Regions from separate parts of the Homo sapiens genome. Here region 2 is linked to region 1. The links are contacts of gene promoters, found by promoter capture Hi-C in human tissues and cell types (Jung and others, 2019). All regions are on one chromosome and are shown on one strand. The core of a region is centred on a gene start or on the middle of the fragment in contact, and the rest is flanking DNA. Distances in the headings are between cores, read along the strand shown.

Region 1 (4,086 bases), core at 869-3,368:
GATATTCTCTGATAGGTGAAGGAATAAACCGTGGTACATCCATGTGATGAAACGTTATTCAGTGATAAGAAGAAATGAGCTATTAAGCCGTGAAAAGATACAGAGAATCATTAATCACATATATTGCTAAGGGAAAGAAGCCAGTCTGAAAAGGCTACATGTTGTATGATTCCAACTGTAAGATATTCTAGATAAGGCAAAACTATAGATCTAGACGGTGGTTGCCCAGGGCTGAGGAGTGAGGGAAGGAGGAATGAATAGGCAGAACATGGCAGGTTATTAGAGTAGTGGAAGTATTCTGTATGATACAATAATGATGAATACATGACATTATGCATTTGGCAAAAGTGACAGAATTATATGCACAAAGACTGAACCTTAATGTAAACTATAGACTTTAGTTAATAATAGTGCATCAATATTGGTTCATTAATTGTAACAAATGTACCACATTAATGCAAGATATTAATTAGAGGAGAAACTGGTTGGGGAGATGGAGAATAATGGGAACTCCCTGTATTTTCTGTTCAATTTTTTTGTAAACCTAAAACTACTGTAAGAAATAATCCATTAATTAATAATAATAATAAATGTACAGATTCACCAAGAGTGTACACTTCTACTTCCACTCTCTTTGTTGATGTATGGTGACAGAATTTTGACATACATTCAATTTGATGGATCGAGTTTGGTCTTTTTCTTTTTTTGAGACGTCATTTCACTCTTGTCACCCAGGCTGGAGTGCAATGGCGCAATCTTGGCTCACTGCAACCTCCACTTCCCGGGTTCAATTGATGCTCCTTCCTCAGCCTCACAAGTAACTGGGATTACAGGTGCCTGTCACCATACCCAGACAATTTTTGTATTTTTAGTAGAGACAGGGTTTCACCATGTTGGCCAGGCTGGTCTTGAATGCCTGACCTCAAGTGATCCACCCACCTTGGCCTTCCAAACTGCTGGGATTACAGGTGTGAACCACTGTGCCCGGCCAAGTTTGGTATTTTATTGTTGTTTGGATTTGCATTTTCCTGCTTATTACCCAAGTTGAGATCTTTTCCAGATTATTGGACTTTTCAAGTTTCCTAATTATGAATTGTCTGTTCCTGGTTTTTGCCTATTTTTCCAGTTGATTATTGGTCTTTTGATTGTGAATTTTTGTTTATTGTGAATTTGTGAGACTTAAAACATTTTTGCATATTAATTCTTTTTTTTTTTTTTCCAGACAGAGTCTCACTGTCACCCAGGCTGGAGTGCAATGTGGGGATCTCAGTTCAGTGCAACCTCCACCTCCTGGGCTCAAGCGATCCACCTGCCTTGGCCTCCCAAAGTACTGGGATTACAGGCATAAGCCACCATGCCTGGCCACTGTATATTACTTTTTAATTTTACAAGTTGCAAATGTTTTCTCACGATCTGTCACTTTCTTTCTTTCCTTCCTTCTTCTCTTCTTTTCTTTGTCTTTTTAAAATTTGAGACAGGGCCTCACTCTGTCACCCAGGCTGGAGTGCAGTGGCACGATCATGGCTCAGTGCAGCCTTGAACTCCCCAGGCTCAGGTGATCTTGCCACCTCAGCCTCCAGAGTAGCTGGGAGAACTACAGGTGCATGCCACCATACCCAGCTAATTTTTTTTTTTTTTTTTTTGTGTGTGTGTGTGTGTGTGTGGAGATGGGGTCTTCCTATGTAGCCCAGGCTGGTCTTGAACTCCTGGGCTCAAGTGATCCACCCAACTTGGTCTCCCAAAGTGCTGGGATTATAGGCGTGATCCACTGTGCCTGGCCCTGTCATTTCTTTTCTCAGAGAGGATAACAATTTATTTGTCCTACAGAAAGTTTTAAATGTTGAAGGAGATTGGCCTGGAAATATGCTTTTGGGGAGCAACACGGTCTGAGCCAGACATCCAGATACAGCCCATTCTTCTGGCCAGTCTTGCCCTTTGCTCCTGATTCTCCAAGCTGTACCCAGAGCTTTCTGGTTCAGCATGTACCTGGAGGCTGCTTTTGACCATGTTTTGAGAGTGGCATGGCTTTATCTAATGGGATGAACCTGGCTAAAGAGATTAGCAAAATGTCTTGTGGATCCCACTTTTAATCTGCAGCGTTCAGGCTGCCCCTTCTTGGCTGGGAAGGGCGCTGAAGAAACAACGCCCAGGACCAGGACTATCCCCTGCTCAAGCTGTGATTCCGAGACCCCTGCCACCACTACTGCATTCACGGGGATCCCAGGCTAGTGGGACTCGACATGGGTAGCCCCCAGGGCAGCTCCCTACAGCTTGGGCCATCTGCACTTTTCCCAAGGCCCTAAGTCTCCGCCTCTGGGCTCGTTAAGGTTTGGGGTGGGAGCTGTGCTGTGGGAAGCAACCCGGACTACACTTGGCAAGCATGGCGCTACTGAAAGTCAAGTTTGACCAGAAGAAGCGGGTCAAGTTGGCCCAAGGGCTCTGGCTCATGAACTGGTTCTCCGTGTTGGCTGGCATCATCATCTTCAGCCTAGGACTGTTCCTGAAGATTGAACTCCGAAAGAGGAGCGATGTGATGAATAATTCTGAGAGCCATTTTGTGCCCAACTCATTGATAGGGATGGGGGTGCTATCCTGTGTCTTCAACTCGCTGGCTGGGAAGATCTGCTACGACGCCCTGGACCCAGCCAAGTATGCCAGATGGAAGCCCTGGCTGAAGCCGTACCTGGCTATCTGTGTTCTCTTCAACATCATCCTCTTCCTTGTGGCTCTCTGCTGCTTTCTGCTTCGGGGCTCGCTGGAGAACACCCTGGGCCAAGGGCTCAAGAACGGCATGAAGTACTACCGGGACACAGACACCCCTGGCAGGTGTTTCATGAAGAAGACCATCGACATGCTGCAGATCGAGTTCAAATGCTGCGGCAACAACGGTTTTCGGGACTGGTTTGAGATTCAGTGGATCAGCAATCGCTACCTGGACTTTTCCTCCAAAGAAGTCAAAGAGTGAGTGGCTTCCAGTCCTGGGGTCAGAGCTATGAATATATTGGGGACACTGAGGCTCAGGCCTCTGACCAGCCCCTCTCCCCGCACCCAGTGCCTTTTCCTCTCCATCGGGTGCACAACTTATTGCTGCGTATGTGAGGGTGTATCAGGTGGAACCATATGAAATTGCTAATATTCTACCTCTTTGACCCATAAAAAATGACAACTTCATAGGGTTCAACCTAACATTGGCTAAGGTGGTAGGAAGGTATCAATTTATATAAGCTGTTTGGATAGGAGCCCCTTGGGATGAAGAGCCAGGCAGCAATGTGTGTCCACTTTATACAGAGGGATGGAAGTCATTCATAGATCACAAACACTGAGGTACTATTTGGCTATTTGTCCCATTCATTCAAAGTAGATGGATTCAGTCCCAGAAGTTTAAATTTCCTAGTTAGTTCCCTTGTTTTCCAACCTTTCAACCCTGAGCATCCATTCCCAAGATGTTTGTCTGGATATGTTGGAAAGAGCATAGGAAGGGGAAGTCATGAGATCTAGGGTGAAGTTTTGGTTCTGTTGTTCAAGGTCTTGTGACCTTGGGCAGGTCACTAGTCACTCTGCGCTTTGGCTTGCCCATCTTTTAAATGAGCACTGGAATAGAATAGGTAATTTTGGAAGTCACCTCCTAGCCCTGCCTGGTAGCTGGCATGCAGCAGGTACTCATTAAATGCTTGCTGGTGTTTACTTAGCGAGTCATGATAGTGCAATGTGATAAAGCATTTCTAAAGTATTCTTGGCATATGTAAAAGTAAAATGCTGCGATGGGCTGTGGGAGGTGCTGGTGAGAGAGAGACTCTCGACCACTGTGTCGGAGGGAACAGCCTGTGCACTGGCTCCAGCGGGCTGCTCTTCCCAACACACCCACCAACCTGGGGCTCGAGTGACTTTTCAGGGAAAGGGCAGCCTGCCTTGAGGCAGCCGCTTTCCCTCACCTCTTCTTTCTGTCTGACTCGACCCTACCTGGCTGAGGTTAGGGGTTCAGTTATTCCTAAGGGTGGTTTTTTTTTCTTCCCAGTGAGGCTGGCAAGTCCAAAGGGAACTTGAACTCAGGGCATTGGCACCAGCAGCAGGACATGTTTGAAGCCC
Region 2 (4,136 bases), core at 1,368-3,867, 520 kb after region 1:
AAGTAATTCTTTAAAAATAAATATAGACCCGGCCGGTTGTGGAGGCTCAAGCCTGTAATCCCAGCACTTTGAGAGGCTGAGGCAGGTGGATCACCTGAGGTCAGGAGTTCGAGACCAGCCTGGCCAACATGGTAAAACCCCATCTCTATTAAAAACACAAAAATTAGCTGGTCATGGTGGTGGGCGCCTGTAATCCCAGCTACTTGGGAGGCTGAGGCAGGAGGATTGCTTGAACCCAAGAGGTGGATGTTGCAGTGAGCCGAGATTGTACCATAGCACTCCATGTAAACCAAAGTCCTTAGTTTAGGACTTCCAATTATGTGTTAAAACCTCGGCTTAAATAAGCAAATGAACTACATGTGCACACATGCACGTGAGAAAAACTAGCAGTATTTCTTTTTTCTTTTTCTTTCTTTTTTTTTTTTTTTTTTTGAGATGGAATCTTGCACTGTCACCCGGTCTGGAGTGCAGTGGCGCGATCTCGGCTCATTGCAACCTCTGCCTCCCAGGTTCAAGCGATTATCCTGCCTCAGCCTCCCAAGTAGCTGGGACTACAGGCATGTGCCACCACGCCCAGCTGATTTTTGTATTTTTAGTAGAGATGGGGTTTCCCCATGTTGGCCAGGATGGTCTTGATCTCTTGACCTCGTGATCCACCTGCCTCGGCCTCCCAAAGTGCTGGGATTACAGGCATGAGCCACTGCGCCTGGCCCAAAACTAGCAGTATTTCTTCGACGAAAGTATTTGGCATATTTGAAGCCCGCTTCTTGATATAAACAAGTTTGGCATGAAGTACAGTACTGAAAAAATGATATAAACAAAATAACTTCTTAGCTTATCAGGATATAGCTATCTTGATAGGCTAAGAAGATTTTTGGTTTTCTTTTGTTGGTTTTAAATTAGGCCTCTGAGTAAAATGCATATCCTGAAAATTAGAATTAATGCCTGGGTCACACTTTCTGTCCATGGTGGGTATGGGAGATGGTGAGAGAAGAGTGGATTTGATAATATATGTTGGTGCAAAAGTAATTGCAGTTTTTGCCATTAAAAGTAATGGCAAAAAAAAAATAGAATGAACCGGCCAGGAGTGGTGACTCACGCCTGTAATCCCAGCACTTTGGGAGGCTGAGGCGGGCGGATCATGTGAGGTTGGGAGTTGGAGACCAGCCTGGCCAATATGAGAAACCCTGTCTCTTCTAAAAATACAAAATTAGCAGGGTGTGGTGGCGCATGCCTGTAATCCCAGCTACTTGGGAGGCTGAGGCAGGAGAATCCCTTGAACTCAGAGGTTGCGATGAGCCAAGATCACGCCATGGGCAACAAGAGTGAAACTCCATCTCAAAAAAAAGAAAAAAAATAGAATGAACCAGAAGGCAGGTAGGAAGTGAGATGATCTTTTTTCTTTTTCTTTTTTTTTTTTTTTTTTGTAGAGACAGAGTCTTGTTCTGTTGCCCAGGCTGGAGTGCAGTGGTACGATCAAAGCTCACTACACAATCGAACTTATGGGCTCAAGGGATCTTCCCACCACAGCCTCCCAAGTAGCTGAGACTAAATGTGTGCACCACCACACTCAGCTCATTTTTTTATTTTTTGGAGTCAGGGTCCTGCTCTGTCGCCCAGGCTGGAGTGCAGTGGCATGAACACAGCTCACTGCAGCCTTGACCTCCTGGGCTCAGATGATCCTCCTGCCTCAGCCTCCCAGGTAGTTGGAACCACAGGCATGTACCATGATACATGGCTAATTTTTTAATCTTTTTGTAGAGATGGGGGTCTCACTTTGTTGCCAAGGCTGGTCTCAAATTCCTGACCTCAAGTGATTCTTCGGCCTTGGCCTCCCAAAATACTGAGATTACAGGCATCAGCCATCATGCCCAGCCTATATTTTCTTCATATTAAATAAAATCATGTTCTCATCCAAGAGTCTTAGTATAACTACAGATCTCTGGTAAGACAGACTAAACTAGTTCAAGTGCCAAGTTTCAGTGCTTTGAAAGAATGGCATATGTTCCTGGCCCTATGACCATTTAAACATGCCACAGTGAATACATAAAGCAATCATTTTAAATTATTAGTCTAGTTTCTTAACATTTCTAGTTGTCTGCAACCATCCCTGTCTTACATTACATTATTAAGTTAGTTCTATTACAAGACTAATGAATGACAGAATAGAGCAAACATGGACTTTGGAGTCAGACAGACATGAGTCAGATAAGAGTTCAAACCCACTGACTGCCGTAAACTTGGGCAAGAGATTTAACCCTGTCAGGGCCTCAGTGTACTCATTAGTAAAGGTAATAATAAGTCTGTAGGAAATAATACCTACATACTTACATTTGACATATATTTAATGCTCCAGCTTAATAAGGTTGGAGTATTCGATAACTGATAAAAAACCTTGCACAGTATTGAGCAGGTAACAGACATTCAGTAAATGGCAGTACCATTCCGATGATACTTTAGATGCTTGTGTGCTATACTGTTCAAGAACCAGCTGGAAAAGACCTCAGGTTACCTCCAGGGTAGGGATAACATTTACCTTAGAGTTTTTGTTTTTGTTTTTTTGAGATGGAGTCTCGCTCTATCACCCATGCTGGAGTGTGGTGGCACAATCTCACTGCAAGGTCCGCCTCCCAGGTTCACTCCATTCTCCTGCCTCAGCCTCCCGAGTAGCTGGGACTACAGGCACCCGCCACCACGCCCAGCTAATTTTTTGTATTTTTAAGTAGAGACGGGGTTTCATTGTGTTAGCCAGGATGGTCTCGATCTCCTGACCTCGTGATCCGCCCGCCTCGGCCTCCCAAAGTGCTGGGATTACAGGCATAAGCCACCGCACCCAGCCCTTAGCGTTGTTTTTCAGACAGTTCTGGCTCTATCACCCAGGCTGGAGTGCAGTGACAATCTTGGCTCACTGTAACCTCCGCCTCCTGGGCTTAAATGATCCTCCTACCTCAGCCCCCTTAGTAGCTGGGACTATAGGCACACATCACCACACTCGGCTAATTTTTCTTTTTTTTTCTTTCTTTTTTTTTTCTGTAGAAACAGGGTTTTGCCATGTTGCCCAGGCTGGTCTCAAACTTGTAAGCTCAAGCAATCTGCCAGCCTCAGCCTCCCAAAGTGCTGGGATTATAGGCATGAGCCACAGCGCCCAGCCACAAACCAAAAATCCTTTGATTTTTATTAACACACTGAAGTACTTACCATTGTCCCCATTTTACAGGACAGAAAACCAAGGCTTAGAGAGTTGTTATTTGCCCACTCAGTCACCCTTTCAGCTTACAGATGAAGCTGTTAGTGACAGGGTCAGCCCTAGAAGCTAATTTGTAAGCAGGCTATGAGGTACTCAAATATCCACATACTAAATGCAGAATATTCAAAGCTAAATTCCAGGTTTGTTCACCTCTCACGTTACCAAAATGTACTCGTTTCCTCTAAAGCAGGGGTGTCTAATCTTTTGGCTTCCCTGGGCCACATTGAAAGAATTGTCTTGGGCCACACATAAAATACACTAACGCTAATAATAGCTAATTAAAAAAAAAATCATGAAAGAAAATCTCACAATGTTTTAAGAAAGTTTACCAATTTGTGTTGGGCTGCATTCAAAGCCGTCCTGGGCCGCATGCAGCCCGTGGGCCTCCAATTGGATAAGCTTGGTCTAAAGCTTAGAAGTAAAGTGATTGACTGGGAGGAAAAATTAATGAATTAAAGCAAGAAGCAAGATACACGGCACAATTTAGGTGGTCCCACTGCTCAGACTGGTCCTGAGGGAGGGGGCAACACAAGAGTTTAGGCATCAGCAAGGGGAGTCCTACTCGGTCACAAGAACACTCAGATGGAGATGATTCACAGTGGGGCTTCAGGTCCAGCCTGACTAGGGCTCAGAAGACATGGGTTTGTCGATTTTAAGCATATCTTTGCCCCTGGAGCCAGGCTTATGGCTGACTGCCTGCAATCCCCAGGACTCTCTTTCCAAATCCCCTGCTCAATTCCTAACCCTGCCCTCCTTAAATCCTTTCTATTGTTACTCACTTCAAGCTCTCATTTCTCTCTATGGATTCTTAATCCTCTTTATTTTATTTATCTATTTATTTATTTATTTTATTTTTATTTATTTATTTGTTTATTTTTTGAGACAGGGT

The links. Contacts are between HindIII fragments. The study calls those that stand out against the background at their distance.
Region 2: a fragment that was not itself captured here is called in contact with the fragment with the promoter of PRPH2 in region 1 in 1 of the 25 tissues and cell types used here (H1 embryonic stem cells).

Annotation. Positions count from the first base shown.
Region 1 is chr6:42,720,629-42,724,714 of GRCh38, reverse strand. It overlaps PRPH2 (peripherin 2), which reads left to right and starts at 2,118. Exons shown (of 3, transcript NM_000322.5): 1 at 2,118-2,961. The coding sequence starts at 2,381. The HindIII fragment of the contact is 25,287 bases long and covers 1-4,086 here.
Region 2 is chr6:42,202,516-42,206,651 of GRCh38, reverse strand. No RefSeq gene overlaps it. Among named protein-coding and RNA genes, the nearest start is that of GUCA1B, 9.6 kb to the right of the region's middle. The HindIII fragment of the contact is 6,721 bases long and covers 1-4,136 here.